Regions from separate parts of the Homo sapiens genome. Here region 2 is linked to region 1. Evidence: promoter capture Hi-C in 16 types of primary human blood cells and fetal thymus (Javierre and others, 2016). All regions are on one chromosome and are shown on one strand. Each heading gives the region's core, a stretch centred on a gene start or on the middle of the fragment in contact. The rest is flanking DNA. Distances are from core to core; before and after follow the strand shown. Region 1 holds the start of FBXO31 (F-box protein 31). Region 2 has its middle 73 kb from the start of LINC02132.

What was found. The method cuts DNA at HindIII sites, captures the fragments that hold promoters and counts their contacts. A CHiCAGO score of 5 or more calls a contact.
Region 2: a fragment that was not itself captured here is called in contact with the fragment with the promoter of FBXO31 in region 1 in 1 of 17 cell types (M0 macrophages); the score reaches 5.4 in M0 macrophages.

Annotation. Positions count from the first base shown.
Region 1 is chr16:87,382,167-87,385,829 of GRCh38, forward strand. FBXO31 (F-box protein 31) reads right to left here and starts at 1,610. Exons shown (of 9, transcript NM_024735.5): 1 at 1,239-1,610. The coding sequence starts at 1,578. It overlaps TRM-CAT6-1 (tRNA-Met (anticodon CAT) 6-1), which reads right to left and starts at 1,928; the gene lies at 1,856-1,928. It overlaps LOC124903747 (a long non-coding RNA gene), which reads left to right and starts at 1,767. Exons shown (of 2, transcript XR_007065168.1): 1 at 1,767-2,030. RefSeq lists silencers at 966-1,205, 1,346-2,005 and enhancers at 1,413-2,066, 2,067-2,718. The HindIII fragment of the contact is 7,278 bases long and covers 1-3,663 here.
Region 2 is chr16:86,007,256-86,010,918 of GRCh38, forward strand. No RefSeq gene overlaps it. Among named protein-coding and RNA genes, the nearest start is that of LINC02132, 73 kb to the left of the region's middle. RefSeq lists an enhancer at 3,602-3,651. The HindIII fragment of the contact is 1,698 bases long and covers 966-2,663 here.

The sequences.
Region 1 (3,663 bases), core at 360-2,859:
AGCTTATCAGTGAGGGACGAGTCTGTGCTACATGCAGGGAGTGAAATACTATGTAGCATTGTTTACACTACACTGTCTCTAAGAGAATATATATTGCATTATATCCTTTAGGGAAGAAGGTACACACGACTCAGAGGTTTTTTAAAATGTTAAGAGTGGTTTATTTTTGACTGCTGGGGTCTCTGATGGTATTTACTTTGTTCCTTTTGCTGTTCTGCATCGCTTGGATGTTTTCTAACCTGTCCTTTTTACCTAAATATGAGCTGCTTGAACATCAAAGAGCTGTCAACCTTTAAACAGAGAGAGCCTTGAACTCCAGATTAAATAAACATCTCCTCCTGTGATCTGTTACATCCAATATTGCTGAAGGCAAAAGTCCAGCCCGCACCGCTGTGATCCATCCGTCTCTCTACGCCCCCACCATCAGGAGCCCCCGACACTGGGCTTCCCCTACTCCCGTAATTTTTTTTGTTGCTGTTGTTTGAGACCAAGTCGCACTCTGTCGCCTAGGGTGGAGTGCAATGGCCCAGATGTTGGCTCAGTGCAACCTCCGCCTCCCGGGTTCAAGCCATTCTTCTGCCTCACCCTCCCGAGTAGCTGGGATTACAGGCGCCCGCTACCACGCCCGGCTAATTTTTGTATTTTTGTAAGTAGAGACGGGGTTTTACCATCTTCACCAGGCTGGTCTCGAACTCCTGACCTCAGGTGACCCGCCCGCCTCGGCCTCCCTAAGTGCTGAGATTACAGGCGTGAAACCGCGCCCGGCCTGCTCCCATTTCTTCAAGTTCACCTCGTCTCTGGTCAGGGCCAGCGGGGCACCCTCGGCTCGCCTTCAAGACAGGGGCAGAGGAGGCGGCCCCCAGGCGTCAGCTTAGGCCCCGCGCAGACCTCGAGGGATCCCAGCCCCAGCTCCCGGCACGGCCTCGGCCCCGTGGTGTCCCGTGCCCCGCGTCAGGGCCTCTTCGATGCCTCCCTGACGCCCTCAACCCCTCCCTACCCCGTCTGCCTCTCTTGGACCCCTCGGACCCTCCCTAACCGCCTCAAATACCTCCCTGGCCCCCTCAACGTGGTGTCACCGCGGCCGCTCCCCACCCACACCCAAAACACCACATCGCCGGGCCCCGCGCCCAACTGGTGGCCCCCGGCCGGGGCCACCGCCCCCGCCACTCCCAGCTCCGAGGCCTCCACCTGGCAGGGACCCCCCGCCCCTCCCGGCCCCGCCACCCCCGCGCGCTCACCCTCACGGCAACGCCTCCTCCAGATGGTGTCGGTGTGGAGGATGCGCCGGAACTTCGTGCAGACCTGGGCCAAGCTGGGTAGGTCCGTGCCCGGCAGCGACGCGAAGATCTCCACCAGCAGCTCGGGCGGCAGCTCCAGCAGCGAGCAGCGCGGGGGCGGCGGCGAGGGGCCCGCGCACAAGCCGCCCCCGACCCCGGCGCTAGCCTCGATGCGCTCCTCCTCGGGGTCTGTGTCCGGCTCGCTGTCGGCCGCCGCCGTCTCGGCCGGGCCCCGGCGCTGCTGGCGGCGCCGACATCCGCGCGACGGGCCCACGCCGCAAAGGCGAGCACACACCGCCATGCCGCCCAGTGACGGCCACTGCTGCCGCCTGTGCGCACGCTCCAGCGCGGCCCCGCCCCGCCAGCGCCGAGCCACGCCCCCGCCGCAGAGCTCGCCACGCCCCCTGGAGAGCCTAGCCCCGCCCCTACGTAGAGCTCCGCCCCGGCCGCGCCACCCCCTCCCCGCGGGGCGGCGACCTCAGAGACCCCGCACTGCTGCCCTCCCCTCCAGCGTGAGGGCGCCGCCCGTGACGGGCATGAGAAAAGAAAGTGGTGATGCCGAGTGCAAAACGTTAGACTGCCCCGTGTGAGGCTCGAACTCACGACCTTCAGATTATGAGACTGACGCGCTGCCTACTGCGCTAACGAGGCTGCTCGGCGACCACTTCGCGCCGCGGCTTTTGTGGAGATAGGGGTCGCCCCTCGCGCCCGTGCGTCCCGCTTCCGGCGCCCGAAACTGTGCCGCGCCGGCCGGTGAGTAGAAAGATGCGCCTTACAGCCTCCAAATACAGAGGCAGCAGCCAGAACCCCAAAGGGCGCCTAGAAGCCCTTTTGTCCATTGAAACAACGCGCGTTCCATCGTCTCCGCCTTATGGTAACCAAAAGGCCCGAGCTGCGGAGCTCTGCAGGGACCTTCGGGGATCCCGAGCTCCCTGCGGAAGCCCCGGGGAGGGCTTGGAGGGGCGGCGGCCGGCGCGGCCCAAGAGATCCGGGGATGCGCGCCCGGTCTGGAAAGGGAGGCCCTGCCATGCGGCGCCGCCCAAAGGGCGCCTGTTCCTGCAGCTGCTGGGAGCCGCGCACGCCTGCTCCAGCTGGGCTCCGCCGAGGCCGCTGAGCGGGGTCGTCTCCCAGGTCCGCGGGTGGTGACCGCGAAGGCGTCCTCTCACCTGAGCAGCCGCGCACGTCGCCGTGGGCTCGCCTCGGACCCCATCTCTTGGAGGCCCAGGCGGGAGTATCAATCGAGGCCAGGAGCTCGAGACCGGCCTGGGCAATACAGCGAGACCCTGTCTACAAAACAAAATTTTAGAAAGAGAAGCTGAGACGGGAGGATCGCTTGATCCCAGGAGGCCGAGGCTGTAGTGACCCGTGATGGTGCCACTGCACTTCAGCCTGGGCAACACAGCGTGACCCTGTCTCCAAAACAAACAAAAAACAAAAATAGCCACAAATGGCTGGGCGCGGTGGCTCACGTCTGTAATCCCAGCACTTTGGGAGGCGGAGAAGGGTGCATCACCTGAGGTCAGGAGTTTGAGACCCGCCTGACCAACATGGTGAAACCCTGTCTCTTCAAACAAACAAACAAACAAACCACACAGGCCAGGCGCAGTGGCTCACGCCTGTAATTCTAGCACTTTGGGAGGCCGAGGCGGGTAGATCGGTTAAGCCCAGGAGTCGGAGACCAGCCTACCCACATAGTGAGACGCCCCCATCTCTACAAATAATTTAAAAAATTAGGCCGGGCGCGGTGGCTCACGCCTGTAATCCCAGCACTTTGGGAGGCCGAGGCGGGCAGATCATGAGGTCAGGAGATTGAGACCATCCTGGCTAACACGGTGAAACCCCGTCTCTACTAAAAATACAAAAAATTAGCCAGGTGTGGTGGCAGGTGCCTGTAGTCCCAGCTACTCGGGAGGCTGAGGCAGGAGAATGGTGTGAACCCGGGAGGCAGAGCTTGCAGTGAGCCAAGATCGTGCCACTGCACTCCAGCCTGGGCGACAGAGCAAGACTCTGTCTCAAAAAAAAAAAAAAATGGTTTCAACTAATAACATCCTGCTATCTACCAGGGAGATCAGCCATTAAACAAGTAACCACATAGATAAATACATAAATTATAAATTGTAATGCTCTAACAATAAGTAAAACTAACAAGATCTTATAGCAGAGACCAGACTTTGGATGATCAAAGGTTCTTTGAGGAAATGACATTTATAAATCAAAGGAAAATTTGGAGTTAGCCAGGAGGAGAACACTTGATGGGAGAATGTTCTAGAAAAAAAGGATAGCGGCCAGGCCTGGTGGCTCACACCTGTAATCCCAGAACTTTGGGAGGCCAAGGCGGGCAGATCACCTGAGGTTGGGAGTTCAAGATCAGCCTGGCCAACATGGT
Region 2 (3,663 bases), core at 565-3,064, 1.4 Mb before region 1:
AAGCCTGTCTTTAATAAATGTATGGATATTCAGATTTTTTCTTTGAGTGAGCTTTGTTTGTGTTTTTCAAGAAATTTGTCAGCTTCACTCAAAGTGTCAAATTTATGGAAATTGTTTATAATTTTCCCTTATTATACTTCTACTATCTGTAGAATTTATGTTAATGTTACCTCTTTCATTTCTAATTTTGGTAATTGTGTCTTCTCTTTTTTTTTCCTTGTTAGTCTGGTTAGAGGTTTATTAATATTATTGATCTATCAAAGAACCAGTTTTGGTTTCTTTGATTTTGGTATTGTCTTCTAGTTTCTATTTCTTTCATTTCTGATCTTATCTTCACGATTTCCTTCCTTTTGCTTGTGTTGGTTTTACCCTACTCTTCTTATTCTGGTTTCTTAGGTGGAAATCAGGTCATTCATTTGGGCACTTTTTTCTTTTTATTAGATGGGTTGGATGCTCTACATTTCCCTTGAAGTTCTGCCTCAGTATCATTACTCAGATTATGATACGCTGTGTTTTCATTTTCATTCTCTTTAACATACTTTCTAACTCCTATTTTCATTTTTCATTTGACCCATATGTTATTTAGAAGTGTGTTAATTGCATTCTAAATCTTAGATTTTTCTGGAGATCATTTTGTTATCAAACATTTTAATTTCGTTGTGGTCAAAGAAAATACATCGTATGACTTAAATTATTTTGAGTTTATTAAAACTTGTTTCATGACTCAAATATTGTTTACTTTGGTAAACATTCTGCATGCACTTTCAAAGAATGTGTGTTATGCTATTGTTGGATGGAGTGTTGTATGAATGCTGGTAGATCGCATTGTGTGATAGTGGTGTTTAGGTCTTCTGTATCCTTGCTTATTTTTGTTATTCTGTAAATTACTGAGAGAGGGGTGCTGAACACTCTGACAATAGTTGTGAAAGTGCCAGTTTTCTTTGCAGTTCAGTCATGTATTTCAAAGCTTTGTTATTAGGTGGATAATACATAGGCTCATATGGCCTCTTAATGAATAGACCCCTTAATCTTTATGAAATGGCCCTTTCTCCCTGGTCATATTCTTGCTATAAAATTTACTTTGTCAGATATTAATACGGCCACTCCTGCTGTCTGCGGTGTTAGCATAACGCTGTGTCTCTCCTGGCCCTCCCCACCTGCCTGTGGCACTTTTAACCTATTTGTTTCTATACATATTTAAAGTGAGTTTCTGATAGTCAGACTAAAGCTGGGTCCTGCATTTTTATTCAGTCTCACAATATCTGCTTTTTCAGTGTTTAGGTCATTTATTTTAATATAATTGTTGACATGGTTGAGTTTCAATCTACCAATCTGGAAGATATTTTCTATTTGTCTCTACTGTTCTTTGTTCCTTTTTCTTTCTGCCTTCTTTTAGATGGAATATTATTTTAATGGTACACTTATCTCCATTGCTGGCTTATTAGCTTTAACTCTGCTGTGTTATTTTAGTGGTTTGTTGTATGCATATCTAACTTATCACAGCTTACTCTCAAATGTTCTTCCACTGCTTCCCATATAGTATAAGAAGTCTTTCCTTCTTACCTTTGTTCCTCTTTACCTAATATTTTTTCCCCCTCTGGTTGCCTTTAAGATTTCATCTTGATCACTAGTTTTGAGTAATTTGATTATCATGGCCTTGTGGTTTTTTTCATTTCTTCTGCTTGATATTTGTGGAGCTTCTTAGATCTGTGGGTGCTGAGTTTTCATTACATTTAGGGTTCTTTTTTTTTTTTTTTTTTGAGATGAAGTCTCGCTCTGTCGCCCAGGCTGGAGTGCAGTGGCGCCATCTCGGCTCACTGCAAGCTCCGCCTCCTGGGTTCACACCATTCTCCTGCCTCAGCCTCCTGAGTGGCTGGGACTACAGGCGCCCACCACCACGCCCAGCTAATTTTTTTGTATTTTTAGTAGAGATGGGGTTTCACCATGTGAGCCAGGATGGTCTCGATCTCCTGACCTCGTGATCCGCCCTCCTCGGCTTCCCAAGTGCTGGGATTACGGGCAAATTTAGGTATTTTTTAGACATTTCTTTAAGCATTTTTTTCTATACCCTCCTCCCCATCCTAAGGGCCTCCAATGACACATATGTTAGGGTGCTTGATGTCCCACACCTCACAGATGATCTGCTCACGTTTTTCAGCCTTGTTTTTTTTTTTTTTTCCCTTAGACAAGGTCTCACTCTGTTGCTCAGGCTGGAGTACAGTGGCACAACTACGGCTCACCGCAGCATCAACCTCCCAGGCTCAAGCCTCCCACTTCAGCCCTCTGAGTAGCTGGGACTGTCGGTGCACACCACCATGTTTGGCTAATTTTTCTAGTTTTTGTAGAGATAGGGTCTCACTATGTTGCCCAGGCTAGTCTCGAACTCCTGGGCTCAAGCTATCCTCCCACCATGGCCCCCCAAAATGCTGGGATTACAGGCGTGAGCCACTGTGCCTGCCCCATTGCTTTCAGTCTTTATTCTCTCTGTGTATTATTCAGATCGTGTCTCTTTCTATTGTCTTCAAGTTCACCAACATTTTCTCATGCACTTTAGAAAAGAGGGCATGGAAGAAATCATATCCTAAGTGGATAGTCAAGGAGAAGGGGCTTGGTGAAGGCCCTGTCTGGACACCTTATTTGTTAAGGTGTCTTCATTAAGGTTAAGCTTGCTGATGCTAGCTGGCCATGGAGAAGCTGCAGATTGGCTGTCCGGATGTGTTTTTAGTGGCGTTTCTAGTGAAGCCAGGTTCTGAGTTGCATGCAGGAAACCATCATCCTCAGCAAAGTAACACAGGAACAGAAAACCAAACACCGCATGTTCTCACTCATAAGTGGGAGTTGAACAGTGAGAACACATGGACACAGGGAGGGGAACACCACACACTGGGGCCTATCAGGGGGTGGGGGACAAGGGGAGGGAGAGCATTAGGACAAATACGTAATGCATGCAGGGCTTAAAACCTAGATGACGGGTTGATGGGTGCAGCAAACCTCCATGGCACATGTACACCTATGTAACAAAGCTCGACGTTCTGCCCATGTATCCCAGAACATAAAGGAAAATAAAAAAATAAAAATACAAATAAATAAATAAAAGAAGAAGGTAGAAATAGAATCGGGGTAGGGGGTCTCGTAGCAGACTCACACACCTGCAGGGAGTTTGGAGGTCACGTCTCTCATCCCTTTGTTTTAGATGTAGTTAACCCCAGCTAGTGCTCATTAAGTGCTTGCCTCCAGCAACTCTCGAATCCTCATAACAAGCCTATTATAGGGGACTCTTATACCTATTTTGCAGGTGATAAAACTGAGGCACAGAGAGGTTGAGTAACCTGGTCAAGGTCATTCAGTGAGAAGCACCAGAGCCCGGATCTGAGCCTTGGTGGTCTGGCTCTGAAGCCCCTGTTTTGATCCACCCCACTGTCTGGCACCTAGAACCCCACTTTGCATATGAGGATATTGAGGTACAGAGAGGGGAAGTCACCTGTCCAAGACCACAGAGTGAGTGCCTGTTGGAACGGAGGCTGTGGCTGCAGCAGCACCTGGCCATGCCTGGGAGTGACTGCTTTCCATTGATCTCGGTGCTTGGGGCCCATCTTCTTGGTGGCTGGTGAGCACTTGAGGTCAGAGATCTGGGGCTGTGGACACAGTGGGATCCTTTGGGGT